Linked DNA regions of Homo sapiens: region 1 is linked to region 2. The links are contacts of gene promoters, found by promoter capture Hi-C in human tissues and cell types (Jung and others, 2019). All regions are on one chromosome and are shown on one strand. Each heading gives the region's core, a stretch centred on a gene start or on the middle of the fragment in contact. The rest is flanking DNA. Distances are from core to core; before and after follow the strand shown.

Region 1 (5,946 bases), core at 1,756-4,255, 55 kb before region 2:
GGAGCGGGTGCTGTTCTGTGTGTGAGCTTCGTGGTGATGGGGCCGTGTAGCGGGTGCTGTTCTGTGTGTGAGCTTCGTGGTGATGGGGCCGTGTAGCGGGTGCTGTTCTGTGTGTGAGCTTCGTGGTGATGGGGCCGTGTAGCGGGTGCTGTTCTGTGTCTGAGCTTCGTGGTGATGGGGCCGTGTAGCGGGTGCTGTTCTGTGTCTGAGCTTCGTGGTGATGGGGCTGTGTAGCGGGTGCTGTTCTGTGTGTGAGCTTCGTGGTGATGGGGTCGTGGAGCGGGTGCTGTTCTGTGTGTGAGCTTCGTGGTGATGGGGTCGTGGAGCGGGTGCTGTTCTGTGTGTGAGCTTCGTGGTGATGGGGCCGTGTAGCGGGTGCTGTTCTGTGTGTGAGCTTCGTGGTGATGGGGCCGTGTAGCGGGTGCTGTTCTGTGTCTGAGCTTCGTGGTGATGGGGCCGTGTAGCGGGTGCTGTTCTGTGTCTGAGCTTCGTGGTGATGGGGCTGTGTAGCGGGTGCTGTTCTGTGTGTGAGCTTCGTGGTGATGGGGTCGTGGAGCGGGTGCTGTTCTGTGTGTGAGCTTCGTGGTGATGGGGCCGTGGAGCGGGTGCTGTTCTGTGTCTGAGCTTCGTGGTGATGGGGCCGTGTAGCGGGTGCTGTTCTGTGTCTGAGCTTCGTGGTGATGGGGCCGTGTAGCGGGTGCTGTTCTGTGTCTGAGCTTCGTGGTGATGGGGCAGTGTAGCGGGTGCTGTTCTGTGTGTGAGCTTCGTGGTGATGGGGTCGTGTAGCGGGTGCTGTTCTGTGTGTGAGCTTCGTGGTGGTGGGGTCGTGTAGCGGGTGCTGTTCTGTGTCTGAGCTTCGTGGTGGTGGGGCCGTGTAGCGGGTGCTGTTCTGTGTGTGAGCTTCGTGGTGATGGGGCCGTGTAGCGGGTGCTGTTCTGTGTGTGAGCTTCGTGGTGATGGGGCCGTGTAGCGGGTGCTGTTCTGTGTCTGAGCTTCGTGGTGGTGGGGCCGTGTAGCGGGTGCTGTTCTGTGTGTGAGCTTCGTGGTGGTGGGGCCGTGTAGCGGGTGCTGTTCTGTGTGTGAGCTTCGTGGTGATGGGGCCGTGTAGCGGGTGCTGTTCTGTGTGTGAGCTTCGTGGTGATGGGGCCGTGTAGCGGGTGCTGTTGTGTGTCTGAGCTTCGTGGTGGTGGGGCCGTGTAGCGGGTGCTGTTCTGTGTGTGAGCTTCGTGGTGGTGGGGCCGTGTAGCGGGTGCTGTTCTGTGTGTGAGCTTCGTGGTGGTGGGGCCGTGTAGCGGGTGCTGTTCTGTGTCTGAGCTTCGTGGTGGTGGGGCCGTGTAGCGGGTGCTGTTCTGTGTCTGAGCTTCGTGGTGGTGGGGCCGTGTAGCGGGTGCTGTTCTGTGTCTGAGCTTCGTGGTGGTGGGGTCGTGTAGCGGGTGCTGTTCTGTGTGTGAGCTTCGTGGTGATGGGGCCGTGTAGCGGGTGCTGTTCTGTGTCTGAGCTTCGTGGTGGTGGGGCCGTGTAGCGGGTGCTGTTCTGTGTCTGAGCTTCGTGGTGGTGGGGCCGTGTAGCGGGTGCTGTTCTGTGTCTGAGCTTCGTGGTGGTGGGGCCGTGTAGCGGGTGCTGTTCTGTGTCTGAGCTTCGTGGTGATGGGGTCGTGTAGCGGGTGCTGTTCTGTGTGTGAGCTTCGTGGTGATGGGGTCGTGTAGCGGGTGCTGTTTTGTGTGTGAGCTTCGTGGTGGTGGGGTTGTGGAGCAGGTGCTGTTTTGTGTGTGAGCTTCTTGGTGGTGGGGTCATGTAGCGGGTGCCATTCTGTGTCTGACTTCTTTTGTTCATCACTTTTCATGGACTGAATTGTGTCCCCCACCAAGTTCATAGATGGAAACCCTAACCCCCAATGTGACTACGTTTGGGGATGGGGTCTTCAAACAGGTAATTGAGGTTAAATGGGATTATACGTGTTTGGCCCTGATCCACTAGGACTAATGTCCTTACAAGAATAAAAAGTGCCACCAGGGGCACATGCCCAGAGGAAAAGCCACGGGAGGACAGTACAAGCCAGGAAGGGAGACCTCACCAGAAACCAGCCTTGCCAGAGCCTCGGTGCGGCCCCAGCCTTGTGAGAAAGTGTGTTTCTGTTGTCGTAGCCGCCCACTGCAGAGCATTCCATGGCAGCAGCCAGGCAGCCGTAGGCGCCCACGTTTCTCACTCCGCTACATTGCCGCGCCTGGCGGGAACTCATTCTTTTTCCCTGCCGTGTGGTGTTCTGTGATATGGATACGCCATGTGTGTCCATCTTGCAGTTGATGGGTGGGTATCTGGAGTCTCTCCCATCCTTGCCAGTTATGAAGCTGCTGTCTTGGGTGTGTCTCTGGGTGCTGGTAGCCCTCGTTTGTGTGGAGTTGCTGCCTCAGAGGGTGATGGACACTGAGCTTTGGAAGCTGTCCCAGGTAGCTGTCCCAGCCTGCCAGCAGCAGCATGTGAGCATTGTGGCTGGCCCGTGGCCTTGGCCAGGATTCTCAGGCCCGTGTCTCCTGTTCTTGCCATGCTGGGGGGTGTGGGGCCTCACGCCCATCCCGCTGGCTGGCATTGCTGGGCATCTTTTTCTTCACTCAGGTCTCCTGGTGGTGCCCTTCTTTACTGTAAAGGGCCTCTTTGGGTGTTGGCCTGTTTTTGTGTGATTTGCCTTTTGGCTGATTTGTGGGAGTTTGTTTTTGTTGTGGATGTTTTCCGCCCCACACGTCTGCTTACAGCGAGGGACCTGCTCTTCCACGGCATCTGGTTTTTTAGCCTTTTATGAGTAGTGCTCTTTGTGTCCTGTTTAAGAAATATTTGTCTATCCCACATTCATGTTTTCTTCTAGAAGCTTGGCTATTTTAGCTTTTATATTTTAAGCCTGAGGCTTCTTGAATTAATTTTTACCTGTGGTCTGAGGTAGGGGCCAGAGTCCTTTTGTCTCCCCATGGAGACACATGTATTGAAATGAGATCCTGACCCACTCAGGTGCAGGGGCGCCTGCGTCACTCGGGTGAGCAGATGTATGGGCTGTTCCCAGACTCTCCATCCTCACTGTTGACCCACTTGTCTGTGCCCTTCGTTATTCCTGAATGCTTACTCTTCCAGACCACCTTAGAAACACTGGACCGGGTTCTCGGCCTCACCAAGGAACCAGCCTCCAAATCATAGATTTGCATTTTCTTCTTCTTAGGATTTCAGCCACACACACAACAAACACTTCAGATCCCTGGCCCCGCCTGCCTCCCTCCTGTTCTCAGCACCAGGGGGACTCATGCTCCATAACTTCCACATGTTGGCCCGGCGCCCCTGCTGTAGAATTTTTCCTCAGTTATTTGAGAGTGTTTCTGGCTTCTCTTCTTTGTATGTTCCAACTGGTGTTTGCCACTGTCTTGCAGGGCTTTGGTTTTCACACATCTTTGCTTCATAATCAGTTCTGGTTACCCCTCTGAAGTGAGTGGGTTTTTATTGTGGTTTTCCCGTGGTTTTTGCAGATACCACTGTCCTTGCAAGGGCCGCATGAAGTTTGCTGAGGTCACCACGCCTTTCCAGGGAGCTGAGCCGGATTTGCTGTGTGGTCTTCGGAGGGGCTGTCCCAGGGCCTGGGAGTGGGGGGATGTCTGCTGTGAGTCTCTTTAGACAGCAGTGACCTGAGGGGTCCTTGAGGGCCTAGGCAGGATTCCTGGCCAGCCTGCCCCTCAGTAGCTGGCACAGACAGAGTGGGTCCTGGGCCGATGACCCAGCCCAAAGGGTGGCACAGGTGCAGAGGGTCGCGGGCCCGCCAAGGACAGCTGCACCTGGCCGCCTGGCACCTCTGCCGGACGAGCTGAACTCGGCACTCCGGGGCCATGAAGTCCCACTAATACTTGTTTTTTTGCAGCTGACATACAAAACACCAATAGCTTCAGCTGAAATGGATTTTTAAAAGTGTCATTTTATGGAGAATTTTACTTTCCATCTTGTTGTTTATTAGGCTCTTAAAGGGAAAGCTTGTAATGCATCCATTGATCGAAATACCAATTGAATAGATGTGAGCACATAAAATACATAAAATAGTCCCAGCCCCTCATAATGGAGCACGACGTTTGTAACGGAGGCAGTGTCATTAGTATTGCCCCCTGCCACCCAGCCAGGCTGCAGAGGCGCCTCCGAATCCTTCTTATTCATTACTGGGGTGAGACGGGGCAGGGATGGCCCTCGGAAGGACCAGTGCCCAGTGAGGAAGTCCTCAGATGTCACAACAGAGCCTCCACCCCACGAGTCAGCCCAGGGGCCGGGGGAGCCAGCCGTGCTCAGCCTCAGCTGGACCAGTCGCACTCAAGGCTGTCCCTGTCCTCAGGGGCCCCCAAACAAGGCTGCTGTCCCTAAGGCTGCATGGCTCTTTCCCCTCATGGCGCCCCTGGCCGCTGGTGCAGGGCTCTCAGCTCCCACCCAGGCCTGTAACCCTGCCTGCCTGCTGAAGGTGTATCCTGGAAAGCCAAGCGGCTGGACGGTCTCTGCAGGCCCCCATACTGGGAGGTAGATGCTGTGGGGGTGACAGCGGGACTAGAGAGCCCATCTGGCCATGGTGCCGGAGCCCCTGCTGAACAGCAGCTACTGCCCCAGGTACCTGGAGGCCCCTTGGAGCTGGTGAGGGCCCCACGGTCTGGGTATAGGGGTTTGGAGGATAGGGGGCCAGACTTGTGAGGAGTAAGTTAGAAGAGGGTTCTTTCTGTGAGATGAGGTGGCCATAGCCATCGTGAGGCCTGCGTGGCCACCACGTAGTCAGATTTCAGCCCTGGCAGCCACAGGCCCTTGAGCATTTAGCCCTGCCCCTGAGATCGTGGGGGCAGGGTCCAGGAGCCGGGAGCCCGCCTAGCACCCCCACTGCACGCCTCTGCTCTGTCTGGCCTGAGCGCCCCTCCCTGCCGGCCCAGCTTGGGCCCCTCCCATGAGGGACTCTGTCTTCCTCCTCCGGAACTCAGGACATTCTGTGAGTGTCTGTCCAGTAGAACCACCTCCCCTGCATTGCCCCAGCCTCACGGGCTGGGCCTCTCCAGCCAAGGGCCCCATGTAGCCTGGCCAACCCATTCGGGGGCCGCAGTGGCTCAGCACCAGGAGAAACCGGGAGGGAGGCTTCCAGCCAGCCCCACACGCGCACACGCATGGACACACATGCATGCTCGCCCTCCCGAGCCAGCACGGTGATGGGGGTGTCAGCGTTTCCAGTGGAAAGCCCCACTTAAGCAGTTTAGTGCCTGTCATGGCGCAGCTCTGCCTGACCTACTTGGGGATTCGCTGCGGCGCCGCCTCCCCCCGGCCGCTCCTCTTCTGCTGACTTCGCACTCCCCGCTCGGGCTCCAAGCTTCGAAAAATTGTGCTCCATTTCCTGAAAATGCTTCTCCGGTTGTTTTCTCTGTGTCTCAGCTGGACTGCCTGTTTACTGCACGTTGCCACTGGCCTGGGCGGCCTGGCCAGGGGCTGCTGGGTCCCCGGCCCACACACAGACACAACCCCGGCCTAGAAGGCCCTGAGGTCGTGTCCCCGTGGCCCGGTACCTGCTCCTGTGGTCCTGCCTCTTCTGGCTGCTAGGGCCGGGCCAAGACCTCGCTCAGCCCTTGGCCTCTCCTGCTGTCACCATACTTATGCCCCCGAGGGTCTTTCCACGTCTGCATATTGCACGTCCCTGTGTCACGTCCGTAGCAGCCTTGCCATCGTCCTGGGGAGACAGGGACAGGCTCGCCCTTCTCGGAGCTCTCAGGGCATGTGTTCTGACCATGCCTCCCTCCTTGAGCCCCGCTGCTCCCTTTGTTCTCAGAGAGCCCATCTTGCCCCAGCCCGCATTCCCAGCGCCTGGCCCTTGCTGCCTGAGCCCACTCCTTGTATCTGCTGACCAAGCCCTGGCAGCCACCTCTCTGCCACAGGTCTCCTTCCTGAGTGTCTGTAACTGACCAG
Region 2 (6,052 bases), core at 3,399-5,898:
AGGCTGAGGAGGGACTCTCAGGAGGCCCTGGGCTTGTTTTTTGGTTGTCGTTTTTAAATGCAAATGAGCCCCTGAGTGGAGGAGGGGCGCCCGGGCAGCAGGAGCAGGGTGGGGGTGGAGGCAGCCCCAGCAGCCCCCTAGCCCAGAAGATGCAGAGCCTCTGTCTGCGGGACGGAGAAGGTTCTGTCTCCTGTGATCAGCTCCGCACAGCAAACGCGGGCACTGGGGGTGTGGGGGTTCTCCCACCTAAATACATGCCCCAAAAATGACACTCCAGACCCCACGCGAGGCTCTACGCAGTTCCGAGCACTTACTCTTGGGGCAGCAGGGTGAGGTTCAGGAGGTCCACGCATGGCCTGGCAGGGTTAGCTCAGCCCTCCTGCGCAGCTGTGCTCTGGCAGGGGTGGAGGAGCCGTGCCAGGAGGGTCCCCTCAGGCCCCTCCCTGCAGTAAAATGCATGAGCTCAGGGCCCCAGCAGACAGCAGACTGCGTGGGGTCCCATGGTGGACAGCAGAGGGAGCTGTGGGGTTCAGCTGGTGAGCACCCCAACCTCCCTGTCCCTCCTCGTACCAGGTTTCCCTCCACCCAGAGCCCTCTGGGGGCCCACGATGACTTCCTGGGCCCTACACCAGCCCCCATGGGCTCTGATCTTGACCCAGCCACCCTGGGCCCTTCCAGGCCCCTCCCAGGCAGTGGCTCTGGGCTCCCTGCTCCCCGGCCTGAAGGGCTTGCCCCTCCATCTGCTCAGGTGTCTGTGAGGCCCCCCAACCCCACCAACCCAGAACTCCCCACCTAGCCAAGCTTCCGCCTTCTCACAAACGAGTGTGGGGGACAGGCCCTGAGGTAGCCTCATGACGCACCCCCCTGCCCAGCGTTCCCACCCTTGGGTGACCCCTTTCCTCCGACAGACTCCTGGAGGGTGGCCAGATGCCGCAGCTGTGATCACGGCACCTTACGCCCCGCTGAGAGCCTCTCCCTGCTGGCCCGAGGCGTCAGGGCCTGTGCTGGGGCTGCACCTGGTGAGGAGCTCAGGGTGGCCTCCAGCCTCCAGCCAGCAAGAAGCCGGTCCTCAGTTGTACAGATTTAAGGAAATAATTCTGCCAACAGCCTGACGATGCCTGGTGGCACAGCCCTTCTCGTCCCACGTTGAAACTGTAGCCCGGCCACCTCCTAGACTGCACCCTGGACGGGGGCTCCTGCTAAGCCCTGCCTGGACACCTGGCTCACAGAAGCCACAAGACCATAAATGTGTGTTAAGTTACTAAACGTGTGGTAATTGGTGAGACAGCAATAGAAGGCAAATCCACTATCATTTTACTCATTATTATTATTTGAGACAGAATCACTCTGTTGGCCAGGCTGAAGTGCACTGGCGTGATCTCGGCTCACTGCAACCTCCGCCTCCCGGGTTCAAGCGATTCTCCTGCCTCAGCCTCCCAAGTAGCTGGGACCACAGGTGTGCACCACCACGCCCGGCTAATTTTTGTATTTTTTAAGTAGAGACGGGCTCTTGCCAGGTTGGCCAGGCTGGTCTCAAAATCCTGACCTTGTGATCTGCCCACCTCGGCCTCCCAAAGTGCTGGGATTACAGGCATGAGCCACTGTGTCCGGCCTCATTTTACTTACTATTTTTATGGCTGATTTTCTGTTCTCTGAGGCCCACTCGGCAGACTGTATTTTCCAAAAACACTACAACAGTGCATCTCAGCCCACAGGCCCCTTCCTCACATGACCTACACAGGCAGTGTCCGTACCCCTGCCCAGGGGGGTGGCCGACCTCTACACACGAGGACCACCAGCATGGTGCAGTGTTCTGAGGCACATGCACCCCTCCACCTTCCTCGGATGCACACACTGGGAACCAGCAGCCATGCTGTGAGGAAGCCCAACCAGCTGCAGGGAGCAGCCCTGTGGAGGTGTCACAAGCAGCTGTTTTGGCCGACAGCTCTCACCATCTGCCAGGCCTGGGTGTGAAGACCCTGCCCAGTGGCACCATCCATCAGCTGTCCCGTTACCCCAACCCCCAAGTCCTCCCAGCTGTCAGGACCAGAGGCAAGCTGTGCCCCTATTCCCAGGACACATCTCCCCCTTACAGAGCCCATGGATGAAATAATACTTGTGCCATCAAGCTCCAGGGGGCTTCTCAACAAGGGACCCTGGCCACCTCCCTGATGGGATGTGCCCCCTAGGCAGGCTGGCTGACGTACTCTAGGTGCTCAAGAGAAGCCTGTTGGGTGCATTGAGTTACCCAGCCACACAGACTGCCCCTGCAGAATTCTGTGAGGACCAAATGCTGAAAGTTTGGAGGGTGTGAGAAGCCCTTGGGTTGGGAGGCTGGCGGGAAGGGAAAGCGCTTCTGGGAGCCCAGGGAACAGCGGAGCACAGGCGAATTCTAGGGAGCCATCCTGGCTTGGTGGTGACAGCACCAAGCCTCAAGGAGGGCTTGGCAGGCTTGGGGCGGATGGGTTGGGGTCAATCTTTGAGGCCACCCCAGCCTCCACCACCTTCTCCCACCTCTCAGAGCAAGATGAGGCACTTAGGCTTCCTGTGGGTGGTGGCGGGATGGGGGTGCCACTGAGTCCAAGCATGGCTGTGGGGTCAGCGTCCCTCAGCCTGAGGTCACAGCTGTGGCCCCGGGGAAGGTTCCCACTGCAACAGCCTGGGGTCAGGCGTCTCCTTCATTCCCACGGGTGTGCTGGAGTCCTCCTGGGCTGGTGACCAAACACCCTCTCCTGGTCTCCTTGGCCTGGCAGGAGCCACAGTGCGATGGGCGGGAGGGGGGGACAGTGGGGACACAGCCCGGTGCAAACACTCTCTCTTTCCTCCTCAACCCCCTTTCCAGTGTGCCCCAGGGCCTCCAGGGTGTGGTACCCAGAAATGCTGCTAGACCCTTGGAGGGGCCGTGGGAGGGCCCTGTAGCCCCAAGGCCTCTCCTGGGGCTGCAGGTGCAGACAACCTGGACTACCACCAGCTCCACTGCGCGGCGGCATCCTCCCTTCCCGGGCCTCCCTCTCAACACGGGGTGCCATAAAGGAAACCCCACACCCCTGGCTGGCTGACCACTCGTGTGGTCTCAAGTCCAGGTACCCAGTGTGGGGACTTGGCTCTGCTGCATGCCCACTTCATTTCTTCATCTGTAGAAGGGTGGGGAGCTCAGAGCCCCCTCTGGGACAGGATCGGGGGAGAGGGGTCCCTGCAGGTGGGTCCTCATGCTGTCCTTGGCCCTCCCTTGCGGGGAGGAAGGCCTGGTCTTCCCAAATCAGCAGTCCCAGCTCTGCCCAGAGGAGTGGGAGGGCCCAGGGAAGGGCCAGGGACACCCCGAGACACCTTAGGAAGCAGATGTTCAGTCCTCACTTCATGACAGTCTTCTTGTTACAAAACAATAGATCTTTGTAGAGGGAAGGAGGTGAGAGCCTGGTACTAAATCTGCGGCGCCGTGACCAGGCCTCCCTGTGGCCTCTGCGCAACTCCTTCCAGGCTTTTTTTCTCTACACAGGTGGTTACATTTTAGACTTTTTTTTTTTTTTTTTAAATTGCTGAAGTCATAGAACAGCAATGGAGAGAATTTCGAGAAGAAACAATAGGCCCACTTCGGGTCACCGGCCTTGTAACTCCTGGCGCAACCCTCCCATCACCCGGCTCGCTGGTGTCGGGGACCTGGGGTCACAGGCCCACCGCCCATCGTCACCTCCTTTGCCCCGTGAACCGGAGCCGTCTCCTCCCAGCAGGTGCACGGCCGCCAGGTGGAAATCCCCGCCTTCCCGTCTCAGTTACCCCCCGTCCCACTCCAGGCCCAGCAAGGCGCCTCCAGCCCTGCGGGGGGCGAAAGTGGGCAGTGGTGGCCGCTTGGGCGGGGATTCCTAACGCCCTGAGGGGCTGCCAGCCCGTGGGCCCCGCCCCCGCCGCTCGCACCCACCCGCGTTGTCCCGCGACCCCCACAGTCCTGCGCTCTCCGCGGCCCCCCACAAGCCGGCCCTCCGTCCCCGGCCCCTCGCGCCGCCCCGCACGCGTGTGTCCCCCTCCGCCCGCCCCGTGCTTCCCGGTGCCCGGAGGTGCCGGCAACTTTGTTGACCAAATTCCTGAACGCGTCTGAGCCGCGGGCTAAAAATAACCGGCTCAGCGCGCCGCGCTCTGCCGGGCCGCGCGGTGTCACCCGTGTCCAGAGGCCCGGAGGTCCCGCTGCCGCCGCCGCCGCCGCTAGCGGAGCTGCCCCCGGCCCCCAGGCCCGGCCGCAAACCCAGGGGGCCGAGGGGGCGTCCCGCCGCGTGGCCCGAGGCGGACGAGGCCCCGAGGGGGTCCCCGGGCGCGGTCCCCGTCTGCTTCCCCGGACTCTCCGGCCGCCGGGTGTGGGAGCTGAGGCCCCTGGAGACGGCAGTTGTCCCCTGAGGCGGCGCGCCCTCTGCCCGTGCAGTGCCCCGTGATGGCCACCAGAGGGCCCTGCCCTCTCCTCTAGCCGGCGGCCCGTCCCTACCTCTTCCCACAGCTGTTTCCCGCAGGAGATTGACAGCTGGGCTCTGAGTTGCCATGGGGATAAGCAAATGAGGGCGGCGGGGCTGGGGCTCCGATTGGCCCGGGGGCGCGCGCCCCTCCCGGGGAGGCGGGCCCAGGCACCCGGCTCTATAAAGGGGCGCGCGCGGCTTCGCGTTTAGCCGTGGGAGGCGGGGCCGGCCGGCGGCGCGGGTGGGGCGCGGGAGCGGTCCCGGAGCAGCCCGAGGCGGCGGCCGCGGGGAGGAGGCGGCGACGCGGGCCCGGGGTCGCCCGAGACACCTGGCCAGCGGTGCCCCTAGCGCGCCGCCCCGGAGTTGACCACGTGAAACTTTTCCCTGCGCCCCTCGGCGCCGCCGCCCCGCGCCGGCGCCCCCCCGCCCCCGCCGGGACCGCCGCCCGCGGGGAGCAGGGGGGGGAGAGGCCTGCAGCTCCCCCCCCACTCCCACGCCGCCCGTCGGGGCGCGGCCGGGCGCGGGCCCCGGGCGATGGCCGCGGAGCTGGCGATGGGCGCCGAGCTGCCCAGCAGCCCGCTGGCCATCGAGTACGTCAACGACTTCGACCTGATGAAGTTCGAGGTGAAGAAGGAGCCTCCCGAGGCCGAGCGCTTCTGCCACCGCCTGCCGCCAGGCTCGCTGTCCTCGACGCCGCTCAGCACGCCCTGCTCCTCCGTGCCCTCCTCGCCCAGCTTCTGCGCGCCCAGCCCGGGCACCGGCGGCGGCGGCGGCGCGGGGGGCGGCGGCGGCTCGTCTCAGGCCGGGGGCGCCCCCGGGCCGCCGAGCGGGGGCCCCGGCGCCGTCGGGGGCACCTCGGGGAAGCCGGCGCTGGAGGATCTGTACTGGATGAGCGGCTACCAGCATCACCTCAACCCCGAGGCGCTCAACCTGACGCCCGAGGACGCGGTGGAGGCGCTCATCGGCAGCGGCCACCACGGCGCGCACCACGGCGCGCACCACCCGGCGGCCGCCGCAGCCTACGAGGCTTTCCGCGGCCCGGGCTTCGCGGGCGGCGGCGGAGCGGACGACATGGGCGCCGGCCACCACCACGGCGCGCACCACGCCGCCCACCATCACCACGCCGCCCACCACCACCACCACCACCACCACCACCATGGCGGCGCGGGACACGGCGGTGGCGCGGGCCACCACGTGCGCCTGGAGGAGCGCTTCTCCGACGACCAGCTGGTGTCCATGTCGGTGCGCGAGCTGAACCGGCAGCTCCGCGGCTTCAGCAAGGAGGAGGTCATCCGGCTCAAGCAGAAGCGGCGCACGCTCAAGAACCGCGGCTACGCGCAGTCCTGCCGCTTCAAGCGGGTGCAGCAGCGGCACATTCTGGAGAGCGAGAAGTGCCAACTCCAGAGCCAGGTGGAGCAGCTGAAGCTGGAGGTGGGGCGCCTGGCCAAAGAGCGGGACCTGTACAAGGAGAAATACGAGAAGCTGGCGGGCCGGGGCGGCCCCGGGAGCGCGGGCGGGGCCGGTTTCCCGCGGGAGCCTTCGCCGCCGCAGGCCGGTCCCGGCGGGGCCAAGGGCACGGCCGACTTCTTCCTGTAGGCGCCGGACCCCGAGCC

Evidence for each region. The method cuts DNA at HindIII sites, captures the fragments that hold promoters and counts their contacts. A contact is called where the count stands out against the background at its distance.
Region 1: a contact is called between a fragment that was not itself captured here and the fragment with the promoter of MAFA in region 2, in 1 of the 25 tissues and cell types used here (IMR-90 fibroblasts).

The regions. Positions count from the first base shown.
Region 1 is chr8:143,482,508-143,488,453 of GRCh38, reverse strand. All of the region lies in intron 4 of ZC3H3 (zinc finger CCCH-type containing 3), which reads left to right. Among named protein-coding and RNA genes, the nearest start is that of SNORD149, 21 kb to the left of the region's middle. RefSeq lists enhancers at 1-136, 137-674. The HindIII fragment of the contact is 3,349 bases long and covers 1,331-4,679 here.
Region 2 is chr8:143,429,328-143,435,379 of GRCh38, reverse strand. It overlaps MAFA (MAF bZIP transcription factor A), which reads left to right and starts at 4,648. Exons shown (of 1, transcript NM_201589.4): 1 at 4,648-6,052. The coding sequence starts at 4,974. The coding sequence ends at 6,035. RefSeq lists a silencer at 4,292-4,731. The HindIII fragment of the contact is 28,870 bases long and covers 1-6,052 here.